Linked DNA regions of Homo sapiens: region 2 is linked to region 1. Evidence: promoter capture Hi-C in human tissues and cell types (Jung and others, 2019). All regions are on one chromosome and are shown on one strand. Each heading gives the region's core, a stretch centred on a gene start or on the middle of the fragment in contact. The rest is flanking DNA. Distances are from core to core; before and after follow the strand shown.

Evidence for each region. Contacts are between HindIII fragments. The study calls those that stand out against the background at their distance.
Region 2: a fragment that was not itself captured here is called in contact with the fragment with the promoter of APOL2 in region 1 in 1 of the 25 tissues and cell types used here (mesendoderm cells).

The regions. Positions count from the first base shown.
Region 1 is chr22:36,237,386-36,243,746 of GRCh38, forward strand. APOL2 (apolipoprotein L2) reads right to left here and starts at 2,142. Exons shown (of 5, transcript NM_030882.4): 1 at 2,056-2,142. RefSeq lists enhancers at 1,069-1,583, 2,121-2,370, 2,381-2,430. The HindIII fragment of the contact is 12,319 bases long and covers 1-4,531 here.
Region 2 is chr22:36,054,314-36,060,807 of GRCh38, forward strand. No RefSeq gene overlaps it. Among named protein-coding and RNA genes, the nearest start is that of RBFOX2, 29 kb to the left of the region's middle. The HindIII fragment of the contact is 5,087 bases long and covers 1,849-6,494 here.

The DNA.
Region 1 (6,361 bases), core at 892-3,391:
GAAATGATTTCCTGAGAAATCGTCATTTTCATTTTATTTTTGAGAAACTGTCTTGCTCTGTCACCCAGTCTGGAGTGCTTTGGGGCTATCACAGCTTGCTGTAGCCTAGAGCCCCTGGGCTCAAGTGATCCTTCTGCCTCAGCCTTCCAGGTAGCTGGGACTACAGGCACACGGCACCATGCAGGACTAATTTGTTAATTTTTCATTTCAGAGAGACAGCATCTCCTGTGTTGCCCAAGCTGTCTTGAGCTCCTAGCATCATGTGATTCTCCCGCCTCTGCCTCCCACAGCACTGAATTACAGGCCTCAGCCGTGGCACTGCACCCTTCTGAGGAATCTTCAGTGAAAAGCCACGGTCAAGTTCAAACCCCATAGCAGGGCACACAGGCCCTCTGATGCTCTGGACCCCACCTTCCTCACCGCTCCCTGCCACCACAGTCACCTTAGGTCCAGGCACCCACTGACGCCCTGCTTCGGTGCCTCCTGGAGCCCATCTACTCCTCCCACTCCCATCCCCAGCCTCAGGCCTTCACTCAGCTGCTCCCTCGCCCTGGAATGTCCCCCCCACTGTCCCCACCATGTGCAAGTCACCTGTCCTCAGAGACCCACCCAAAGCTGCCTGGTCCATGCGGCGGCCCCCAACCCTCCCCAGGCTCCCTGAGCACTCTGCTTTCCAGAGGGAGCTCTACCTGTATGTGGCTCTTTGGGCCTCTGTCTCCCCTTTAGACTCTGAACATTCAATGGGGACACTGTTGTGTTCCCAGCTGCACCCCCTACGACTGACCTGGATGCCCTCCGCCCTCCCTGGCACAGCCTGGCTGAAATCCCAGGTGCAGGAGGCATTACTTGAACTAAAAGCAACCAGCCTCTGGATGACATGGCCCAGCTTCAGTTTCACTTTCAGTTGAGAAATTGAATTTAATTTTTCTTTCTATCTTGATGGGCATCTCTTTTTGGTGAAGAACAAATAAGACCATGACTCATATTTCACAGAAATTACCCCCCTGATTTCATGGACTTTTGGCAGCTCTATCAAGTTTTTTAGAGGGGAAAAATCTTAGGCTGGGAGGGGAGGTGACTTGCCCAGAGTCACACAGCTCTTGGAGGGCAGAGGGGAGGCCAACATCTGCCCTTGTGACTCTGATATTGAAGCAAAAATGGGTGATTTTAATAATCCAACAGTGTCCAGGTTTGATTCTGCTTCTACAAACACAGAGACCTAAGCTCTCACTCCTGTAGTTATACTCACAATTCCACAGTGTGGCTTTTGAATCTCATGATTGCAAAGCTGGCATCATGCCACAGGTACCATTCTGCAATGCGACCTTCTCACTCCCCTGTCTCAGCCATGTTTCCCATTAGGGACACAGCACAGCCTGTTTCTTCTCTATCAGCTCAGAGGTCTGAACAGAGGGACAGAGGTGAGGGCCAGAGACGTGAAGTCCTATGATCTGCCTGCTCAGCCTCCTGACACGGGACCCTGGCAAGTCATTCCCCTCCCAGGGCCTCAGTTTCCCCACAGGGCCTGGCACAAGTAGGTGCTCAGACTCAGGGTGAGTGAGACAACCTCTGAGTTCCTTGTGTCTCAAAAGAAATCTGTTGTTCCCATTGGGCTTCAGCAGCAGCACCCTGGGGCCAGCCTGGGTGTGGCCCGGCCACAAGGACATGCCGGGCTCCAGGTCACCTCCCCTCCTCCACCTTCTTTGATTCCTTCAAATTTCCCAAAGAGATGGGCACCCCCAACACCTACCTTTCTTCTGGGGTCAGCTGGCCGTGTCTGAGGGTGTCAGAACCAGAGCTGAGCCCGGGGAGCTTTGTGAACCCATCTAAGCTGTTTTCCCCACCTCTCTCTACAGTTTACCCGCCCAGCAGGAGGGAGGGAGCAATCAGACTCAAGCCTGGGTGCAAATCCCGGCTCTGCCACTGCTTTCCTGTCTGATCTGAACCAGCTACCTAACCTCTCTGAGCTTATCTACAAAAGCTGAATGATCCTTCCCTTATAGAGCTATTGCAAGAATAAGGACATGGGGGTAGATCACACTATCCCCAACTTACCAAGGGATCTTCCTCTGACAGAGACTGAGCAAGATCCAACTGTTCTGAGCTGTGTGGATCCCACGTCCAGCTGTGCATCTGTGTAATAACCAGACACGTCCTCCGGCCTCCCAGATATACCCTGGAATTCGAAAGGGAAAGTGAAAGTCACAACTTCCCAGCAGCTCATGACCAAGCACAGTAAACACGCTGCTCCCCAGCACCACCTGCAGTCCAGGCCCAGCCTCCTTGCTGCTGCACTTAGAGGAGCAGCCGCAGACCAGACATCCGGGTCCCTCTCATCCAACCCACCTGCCTCACATCCTCAGGATTCAAGGTCTGCTGTGTCAGCTGCCCATGTCTCAGGCAGTCAGAACCAGAGTTGAGCCTGGGGAGTTTTTTGAACCCATCTGAGCCGCTTGCCCCCCAACCCCCGCCCCGATCTCTGCAGTTTAAGGGCACAGCAGGTGGGGGAGAGAAGTCAGACTCAAGCCTCAGTGCAATTCCAGGCTCTGCCCCTGTTTTACTGTCTGATCTGAACTAGTTACCTAACCTTTCTGAGCTCAAGAAAGACCTGCCACTGACTGACCGTGGGGCTCTCCAGATTACTCCCCGTCCTTCCGTTCCCCCACATTCCTCAGATGCCTGCCTTACTCCCACACATGCCATCAGCATCAGCACAGTCCCCCACACATGCTGGGTGGATGCTTATTGCATATTTATTGTAATGCTTCTGAGGTTATGTTTTCTGTTATGTTTTTGATATAGAGTCTTGCTCTGTAGCCCAGGCTGGAGAGCAGTGGCACAATCATAGCTACTTCAAGTGGCACAATCAAGCCATCCTCCCATCTCAGCTTCCGAGTAGCTGGGATTACAGGTGCCTGCCACTACACCCAGCTAATTTTTTGTAATTTTAGTAGAGATGGGGTTTCACCATCTTGGCCAGGCTGGTCTTGAACTCCTGACCTCAAGTGATCCACCTGCCTTGGCCTCCCAAAGTGCTGGGATTACAGGTGTGAGCCACGGCGCCCAGCCCATTGTATCCTTCTTGTGACTTTGTGTCTTCATAGCTTAGCTCCTACTAATAAATGAGAACATACAATATTTGGTTTTCCATTCCTGAGTTACTTCACTCAGAATAATGGTGTCCAACTTCATCCAGATTGTTACGGATGCCATTATTCCCTTCCTTTTTACAGCTGAGTAATATTCCATGGCATATACATATATAGGGGTGTGTGTGTGTGTGTGTGTGTGTGTATATACACACACATTTTCTTCATCCACTTGTTGGCTGATGAGCATTTAGGTTGGTTCCATATTTTTTCGGTTGCAAATTATGCAGCTATAAACATGCATGTGCGAGTATCTTTTTTATATAATAACTTTTCTCCTCTGGGTAGATACCCGGTAGTGGGATTACTGGATCAAATGGTATTCTACTTTTAGTTTTTTAAGGAGTTGCCATACTGTTTTCCATAGTGGTTGTACTAGTTTACATTCCCACCACCAGTGTAAAAGTTTTCCCTTGTCACCATATTCACACCATTTTAGCTAGGCTGGTCTTGAACTCCTGACCTCAAGTGATCCACCTGCTTTGGCCTCCCAAAGTGCTGGGATTACAGGTGTGAGCCACTGCACCCTTCTATTCTTCTTTGATTTTTAAATTATGGCCATTCTTGCAGGAGTAAGGTGGCAACTTATTGCAGTTTTAATTTGCATTTCTCTGATAATTAGTGACGTTGAGCACATTTTCATATTTTTTTGGCCATTTCATTTTGTATATCTTCTTTTGAGAATTGTCTATTCATGTCCTTTGCCCACTTTTTGATGGGATTATTTTTTTTTTCTTGCTGATTTGTTTGAGTTCCTTGTAGAAACTGGATATTAGTCCTTTGTCAAATGCACAGTTTGCAAATATTTTCTCCCACTTTGAGGGTTGTCTGTTTTCTCTGCTGATTATTTATTTTGCTGTGCAGAAGCTTTTTACTTTAATTAGGTCCCATCTCTTTATTTTTGTTTTCGTTGCATTTATTTTTGGGTTCTTGGTCCTGAATTCTTTGCCTAAGCCAATGTCTGGAGGAGTTTTTCCGATGTTATCTTCTAGAATTTTTATGGTTTCAGGTTTTAGATTTAAGTCTTTGATCCATCTTGAGTTGATTTTTGTATGAGGATACTGTTTCATTCTTCTACATGTGGCTTGCCAATTATCCTGGCACCATTTGTTGAATAGGGTGTCCTTTCCGCACTATACGTTTTTCTTTGCTTTGTCAAAGACTAGTTAGCTGAAAGTATTTGGCTTTATTTCTGGGTTCTCTATTCTGTTCCCTTGATCTATGTGCCTATTTTTATACCGGTACCATTCTGCCATTATGTACCTTTTTTTTTTTTTTTTTTTTTTTTTTTTGAGATGGAGTCTCTCTCTGTCACCCAAGCTGGAGTGCAGTGGTGCGATCTTGGCTCGCTGCAAGCTCCACCTCCTGGGTTCATGCTATTCTCCTGCCTCAGCCTCCCGAGTAGCTGGGACTACAGGCGCCCACCACCACACCTGGCTAATTTTTTTTTTTTTTTTTTTTTGTATTTTAGTAGAGATGGGGTTTCACTGTGTTAGCCAGGATGGTCTCGATCTCCTGACCTCGTGATCTGCCTGCCTTAGCCTCCCAAGGTGCTGGGATTACAGATGTGAGCCACTGCACCCAGCCCTTGTACCTTTTAAGTGAACCATTTAGCCCATTTTCATTCAATGTTAGTATTGAGATATAAAGTGCTGTTCTATTCATCAGGCAAGTTGTTGCCTAAATACCTTATTTTTTTCATTGTGTTATTGTTTTATAGGCCCTAAGGCTTATAAAACAATATGCTGTAAGGAGGTTCTATTTTGGTGTATTTCGAGGTTTTGTTTCAAGACTTAGAACTCCGTTTAGCATTTCTTGTAGTACTGGCTTGGTAGTGGCGAATTCTTTCAGCATTTGTTTGTCTGAAAAAGACTTTATCTCTCCTTCATTTATGAAGCTTGGTTTTGCTGGATACAAAATTCTTGACTAACAATTATTTTGTTTAAGGAGGCTAACAACAGGACTCCAGTCCCTTCTGGCTTGTATGGTTTCTGCTGATAAATTAGCTGTTAATCTCATAGATTTTCCTTTACAGGTTACCTTATGCTTTTGTCTCACAGCTCTTAAGATTATTTCCTTCTTCTTGACTTTAGATACCCTGATGACATGTGCCTAGGTGAGGATCATTTTGTGATGAATTTCCCAGATGTTCTTTGAACTTCTTGTATCTGGATATCTAGATCTCTAGCAAGGCCAAGGAAGTTTTCCTCAATTATTCCCTCAAATAAGTTTTCCAAACTTTTAGATTTCTCTTCATCCTCAGCAACACCAATTATTCTTAAATTTGGCCATTTAACATAATCTCAAATTTCTTGGAGGCTTTGCTCATTTTTTAAAATTCTTTTTTCTTTGTCTTTGTCTGATTGGGTTAATTTGAAAGCTGTGTCTTCAAGCTCTGAAGTTCTTTCTTCTACTTGTTCTAGTCTATTGTTGAAACTTTCCAGTGCCTTTTGTATTTCTTTCAGTGTGTCTTTCATTTCCAGAAGCTGTGATTGTTTTTTCTTTGTGATATCTATTTCTCTGGAGAATTTTCATCCATATTCTGTATTTTTTAAAATTTCTTTAAGTTGGTTTTCACCTTCCTCTGCTATCTCCTTGAATAGCTTAATAATCAACCTTCTAAATTCTTTATATGGCAATTCAGAGATTTTTTGTTGGCTTGTATCTATTGCTGGGGAGCTAGCAATAGCTTTGGGGGGTGTTATAGAAATATGTTTTGTCATATTACCAGAATTACTTTTCCGGTTCCTTCTCATTTGGGTAGACTATTTCAGTGGAAAGATCTGAAACTCAACTCCTTCTGTTCAGGTTCTTTTGTCCCACGGGTTATTCCTTGATGTGGTACTCTCCTTCTCCTAGGAATAGGGCTTCCTGAGAGCCAGACTGCAGTGATTGTTATTGCTCTTCTGGGTATAGCCACCCACTGGGGCTATACCAGCCTTTGGGTTGGTGCTGGGGAATGTCTGCAAAGAGTCCTGTGATGTGATCATCTTCTGGTCTCCTAGCCATGGATACCAGCACCTACTCTGGTGTAGGTGACAGGCGAGTGAAGTAGACTCCGTGAGAGTCATTGGTTGTAGTTCTCTTTAGTGTGCTGTTTTCTCCAATGCTGGTTATGCTAGCAGTGAAGCTGTCATGTGGAGAGACTGAGGACCTCTGGTCAGTCAGGATGTTGCGGGCAGTGGTATTAGCTCTTGTCTTCTCCTTCCTGG
Region 2 (6,494 bases), core at 3,142-5,641, 180 kb before region 1:
TGTTTTTTGACACGGAGTCTCGCTCTGTCACCCAGGCTGGAGTGCAGTGGCGTGATCTCAGCTCACTGCAAGCTCCACCTCCCAGGTTCACGCCATTCTCCTGCCTCAGCCTCCCTAGTAGCTGGGACTACAGGCGCCCGCCACCATGCCTGGCTAGTTTTTTTGTATTTTTAGTAGAGACGCGGTTTCACCATGTTAGCCAGGATGGTCTCTATCTGCTGATCTGCCTGCCTCAGCCTCCCAAAGTGATGGAATTACAGGTGTGAGCCACTGCGCCTGGCCAGAGAGAGGGCTTTTTTTATGTTGCCCAAGTTGGTCTTGAACTCCTGAGCTCAAGTGACCCTCTTGCCTCGGCCTCCCATAGTGCTGGGATTACAGGTATGAGCCACCGCACCCGGCCCTTGCTCTAATTTCTTCAGTGGTTCCTCAACTTGATCTTCCAACCCTTTTATTGATTTTTTAAAGCGTCAACAATCCTATCTTTAATTTCTAAAGCTCTTTCTAAATCTTTGAATGTTACCAAACGGAACCCTGTTTTTGTTTCAGTTGTGGGATGCAATAATCTTTTATCTCTCTAAAGACAAAATGATTTTTTTTTTTAACTCCATGCATGGTGTTTGGTGTCTGTTTCTTTTTTGTTTTTTGAGACAGAGTTTCACTGTTACCCAGACTGGAGTGCAGTGGTGCAATCTCAGCTCACTGCAACCTCCACCTCCCGGGTTCAAGCGATTCTCCTGCTGCAGCCTCCCAAGTAGCTGGGATTACAGGCACACACCACCAAGCCTGGCTAATTTTTGTATGTTTAGTAGAGATAGAGGTTTCACCATGTTGGCCAAGCTGGTCTCGAACTCCTGACCTCAGGTGATCTACCCGCCTCAGCCTCCCAAAGTGCTGGAATTACAGGCGTGAGACACCATACCAGATCCATGGTGTCTGTTTCTTCCTGGTTGCTTTGATCCTGTCTGGTCCTGTCTGTTTTGGTTTCTCTCTTCCATGTTCAAGGTTTTTCTTCAATGTGAGGTATTTCTTAGCTCTCTTCTCAATAAAAAGCTACAAAGTTAATTGGGAGCTTGAGCACCAGGCACCATCCACTCAAACTTTGCAGCAGGGTGGTCTGGGTGGCTATTTGCTGGGAAACCCAATCCAGTGTTCTTGTTTTCTCTTTAAGCTAGTCATCTTCCGGTCCTCTGCCTGGGGGGTAAGGGTTTGGTTGTCAGGGTCCCAGGAAACAAGCAGAGTGGCAGGCCTGGAAGGGTATGCGTATGGTGTTGCCACGTTCAACATTAAGATACATTTGACTCCTTTATCCCTGGCTTTTCTGAGCAGTACTCATGTCCTCAATGTGCCTGGCATCCCCCGATTCAGAGCAGCTTTGTTTTACCCTCTCCTGAGAATAATCTTCCAGACTTCCGCTGTGGGGGCGCGGGGGTGTGAGGTGGGAGGGGATCTAGGGGTCTAAGAGCTTCCTAAATAACTTCCCCCACCAGTCTTTCTTATTTTAGCACCACCATCACCCCCTTCACTCGCAGAGGGACCTGGCGCTGCCAGCTCTCTGTCTTTGGCAGAGTCTGTCCTGTCAATCGCATCCATGCTCAGCCTTCCCACGGCTGCCTGGGACTCATTTGTCAGGCTTTCCCAGGCCTGACAACCAGTGACCCCCCGTCCCTCCCCTCTTGTGGCCGTGCTTTCCCATCCTGCTTTTCTCAACATTGTGGGTTTATGTCTCTTTTTAAAAAAGTATTCCTCTTCCAGAAGTTTCAGTGAGGTTTCAGGAGGGAGCAAAATTAGACGCATATGTGCAATCTGTCGTTGTAACCTGAACTCTACCCTGCAATTCTGAAATCCGATCTGCTCCTTAAAATTTGGTGTGGGACTTCTCCATAGAGTTATGGGAATTCATAAGCTCAACGTGTGCCACTACAGACTTTGCTTCATGCGACCACATACCAGGCACTCTGCTGGAATCTGGGATACAGACGTGTTTAGGGCATGGTACCCTCCTAACAGATATCAGCTAAGCAGAAGAGGCGGACATACTCAAGGAAACATAATACAAGCCCACAATCCCTCACCCAAATCCTTGGGAGTCATATAGGTTTTAGATTTCAGGATTTATTAGATTTTAGAAAGGTAATATGGGCCATGATTCTCATGGTACTCCAGTGGGGCCTGCAGCAACACCTCAGTATCAAACACAATATTGCTGCAGTGAAATGTATGGATATTCACACTAAATAAGATTTTTTTTTTAAAGATGATAAATAACCTCACATCCATTCAGGACAAGTTTAAGAACTGAGTACGTTAATAAATAAGGTCCAGTTTTCAGTTTGGGGATGTCTGAGTTGTTGATAAGGTCCTGTGAACCAGAATGTCTTAGTCTCTCTGGCTGCTATCACACAATTCCTTAGACTGCATAATTTATAAGTAATAGAAACTCATTTCTCATAGTTCTGTAGTCTGGGAAGTCCAAGCTCAAGGCACTGGCAGATTCGGTGTCTGCTAAGGGCTTGTTCTGTGCTCCGTAGATGGTACCTTGTGGCTACATCCTCACGTGGGGGAAGGGGAAGACAGCTCTCTTGAATTAAAAAAAAGAAAAAATTAAGTTTAAAAATTTTTTATTAAATTATTTTTTTTTTAAGAGACAGGGTCTCATTATGTTGCCCAGGCTGGTCTCAAACTCCTGAGCTCAAGTGATCCTCCCCACTTAGCCTCCCAAACTGTTAGGATTACAGGCGTGAGCCACTGCACCCAGGCTTGAACCTTTTTTATAAGGTTACTAATCCCATTCATGAGAGCTCTGACCTTATGACTTAATCACCTCCTAAAGGCCCCACCTCTTCTTACCATCACACTGGTGACTAAGTCTCAATATATGCATTTTGGGGGAATACATTCAGACCACAGAACTCTATAATGTATTAAGTTTTATAAATGAAAGTTGTACAAAATAGTGTAAGTGTATACTGAAGGGAAAGGGGAGGCTTCACAGGGGAAATGATATTTGAACTAGACCTTGATGACTGAATAGGAGCTCACCAGAAGGGAAGGGGGCTTCTGGGCAGGGTGAGCAGCTCAAGCAAAGGCCCAGTGTATTAGTCCATTTTCATGCTGCTGATAAAGACATACTGGAGACTGGGCAATTTACAAAAGAAAGAGGTTTAATGACTTACAGTTCTGGTTGGCTGGGGAAGCCTCACAATCATGGTGGAAGGCAAGGAGGAGCAAGTCACGTCTTACATGAGTGGCAGCAGGCAAAAAAAGAGCTTATGCAGAGAAACTCCTGTTTTTTAAAACAATCAGATCTCGTAAGACCCATTCACTATCACAAGAACAGCACAGGAAAGACCCACTCCCATGATTCAATCATCTTCCACTGGGTTCCTCCCACAACACATGGGAATTATGGGAGCTACAAGATGAGATTTGGGTGGGGACACAGATCCAAATCATATCACCCAGAGGTTGGAAGCATGAAAGAATGCCACTTCTTGGCTGGAAGCAGTGCCTCATTCCTATAATCCCAGCACTTTGGGAGGCCAAGGTGGGTGGATCACCTGAGGTCAGGAGTTTGAGACTAACCTGGCCAACATGGTGAAACCCCTTCTCTACTAAAAATACAAAAATTAGCTGGGTGTGGTGGCTCATGCCTGTAATCACAGCTACTCGGGAGGCTGAGGCAGGAGAATCACTTGAACCCAGGAGGCAGAGGTTGCAGTGAGCCGAGATCATGCCATTGCACTCCAGCCTGGGTGACAAGAACAAAACTCCATCTCAAAAAAAAAAAAAAAAAAAGAATATCACTTCTTGAGCAACTAGGCAGCTTGGTTTTGGTTCTAGAGCCAGGTCTCTTTCTCTGCAGAATGAGTCTATTCTTCCCAGCTGAAGCATGGGCTTGATTAGAGATGGAATGGTATGAGAGACGGGGCTGGAGAGGTTGGCAGGGGCAGGTCATGGAGAGCTATCTGGGCCACACCAAGAAGTTTGGTGCCTGTAGGGCATCATTTCTCAAAGTGTGGTCTCCAAATCCTCTCAAGAAGTCCAAGAGGTCAAAATCATTTTTGTAACAATGCTAACATAAGATTTGCTCTTTTTATTTTGTTGACTTTTTTTTTTTTTGACACCAAGTCTCACTCTGTCACCCAGGCTGGAGTGCAGTGGCGCGGATTCTCTTGCCTCAGGCTCCCAAGTAGCTGGGATTATAGGCTTGCACCACCACACCCAGCTAATTTTTTTTTTTTTTTTTTTTTTTTGTATTTTTAGAAGAGACAGGGTTTCACCATGTTAGCCAGGATGGTCTCCATCTCCTGACCTCATGATCTGCCCGCCTCGGCCTCCCAAAGTGCTGGGATTACAGGTGTGAGCCAACACACCCTGCCTGACATTTTGAATGATGGTGCAAGAGCAATATTGAGTGGGGCCGGGTGCGGTGGCTCATACTTGTAATCCCAACACTTTGGGAGGCCAAGGTGGGTGGGTCACTTGAGATTAGGAGTTTGAGACCAACCTGGCCAACATAATGAAACCTCGTCTCTACTAAAAATACAAAAATTAGCCGGGTGTGGTGGCATGTGCCTGTAATTTCAGTGACTCAGGGGGCTGAGGCAGGAGAATCACTTGAACCTGGGAGGTGGAGATTTCAGAGAGCCGAGATTTCACCACTGCACAAGACTCTGTCTCGCAAACAAACAAACAAAAAACCCACAAAATAACATGGTCAGAGGGATACACTAGTTGACTTCTTGGCCTAAACTTCCTACCTAGACATTTCAAGATTCTTTGACAGTCTCTGTTTTAGGCATCAAATGTGCACACTGTAGACGTGCAAAAAGCTTTCTGTTGTTTCAAATGAAATTGAGTTTTGGGTGGGCTCGGTGGCTCACATGCCAGCACTTTGGGAGGCCAAGGCAGGTAGATCCCTTGAGGTCAGGGTTCGAGACCAGCCTGGCCAATATGGCAAAACCCTGTCTCCATTAAAAATACAAAAATTAGCCGCATGTGGCGGTGGATGCCTGTAATCCCAGCTACTTGGGAGGCTGAGGCATAAGAATCACTTGAGCCTGGGAGGCAGAAGTTGCAGTCAGCTGAGATTATGCCTCTGAGATTGTGCCACTGCACTCCAGTCTGGGTGATAGAGTGAGACTCCGTCTCAAAAAAAAAAAAAAAAAAAGTTTGTTTTATCTAAGAAGAATATCCTCAATGAAACAGTAAAATTATCATTTTTATTAAGTCTTCACCCTTCAGCACGACTTTCTATTATTCTGTGTGATGGAATGGGAAGTATGTATAAAACAATTCTTTTGCATACCAAAGTACTGTGGTTATCTCTAGGAAAGGCACTTGTGTAATTGTTTGAGTTGCAGGTGAAACTAGCCATTCTTTATGGAATGCCATATTTTAGTTGAAAGAACAACTGCCAAAGAAAAAAATTATGACTCTTCGGATTTTAGTATTTGGCAGATATTTTCTTAAAAATGAATGCAGCGATGTTTATAGCAGCACAATTTGCAATTGCAAAAATGTGGAACCAGACAAATGCCCACCAATCAATGAGTGAATAAAGAAACTGTGGGGGGTGTGTGTGTGTGTGTGTGTATATATATGTATATATATATACATGTGTACCTGTATATGTGTGTGTATATATATACACACATATATATACACACGTACATATATATACATATATATACACACGTACATATATACATATATACACACGTACATATATACATATATATACACACGTACATATATATACATATATACACACACGTACATATATATACATATATATACACACACACACACACACACATATATGATGGGATATCACTCAGCCATAATAAGAAATGAATTAATGGCATTCACAGCAACCTGGATGAGATTGGGGACTATTATTCTTTTTTTTTTTTTTTTTGAGATGGAGTTTTGCTCTGTCGCCCAGGCTGGAGTGCAGTGGCACGATCTCTGCTCACTGCAAGCTCCGCCTCCTGGGTTCACGCCATTCTCCTGCCTCAGCCTCCCGAGTAGCTGGGACTACAGGCGCCCACCACCATGCCTGGCTAATTTTTTGTATTTTTAGTGGAGACGGGGTTTCGCCGTGTTAGCCAGGATGGTCTCGATCTGCTGAACTCGTGATCCGCCCGTCTCGGCCTCCCAAAGTGCTGGGACTACAGGCATGAGCCACCGCGCCCAGCTGGAGACTATTATTCTAAGTGAGGTAACTCAGGAATGGAAAATCAAACATCGTATATTCTCACTCATAAGTGGGAGCTAAGCTATGAGGATGCAAAGGCATAAGAATGATACAATGGACTTTGAAGACTCGGAGGGTAAGGGTGGGAAGGGGGTGAAGAATAAAAGACTACAAATTGGATTTAGTGTATACTGTTTGGGTGATGGGTGCACCAAAATCTCACAAATCACCACTAAAGAACTTATTCATGTAACAGATACACCTGTTCCCTCCAAAACCTATGGAAATAAAAAAT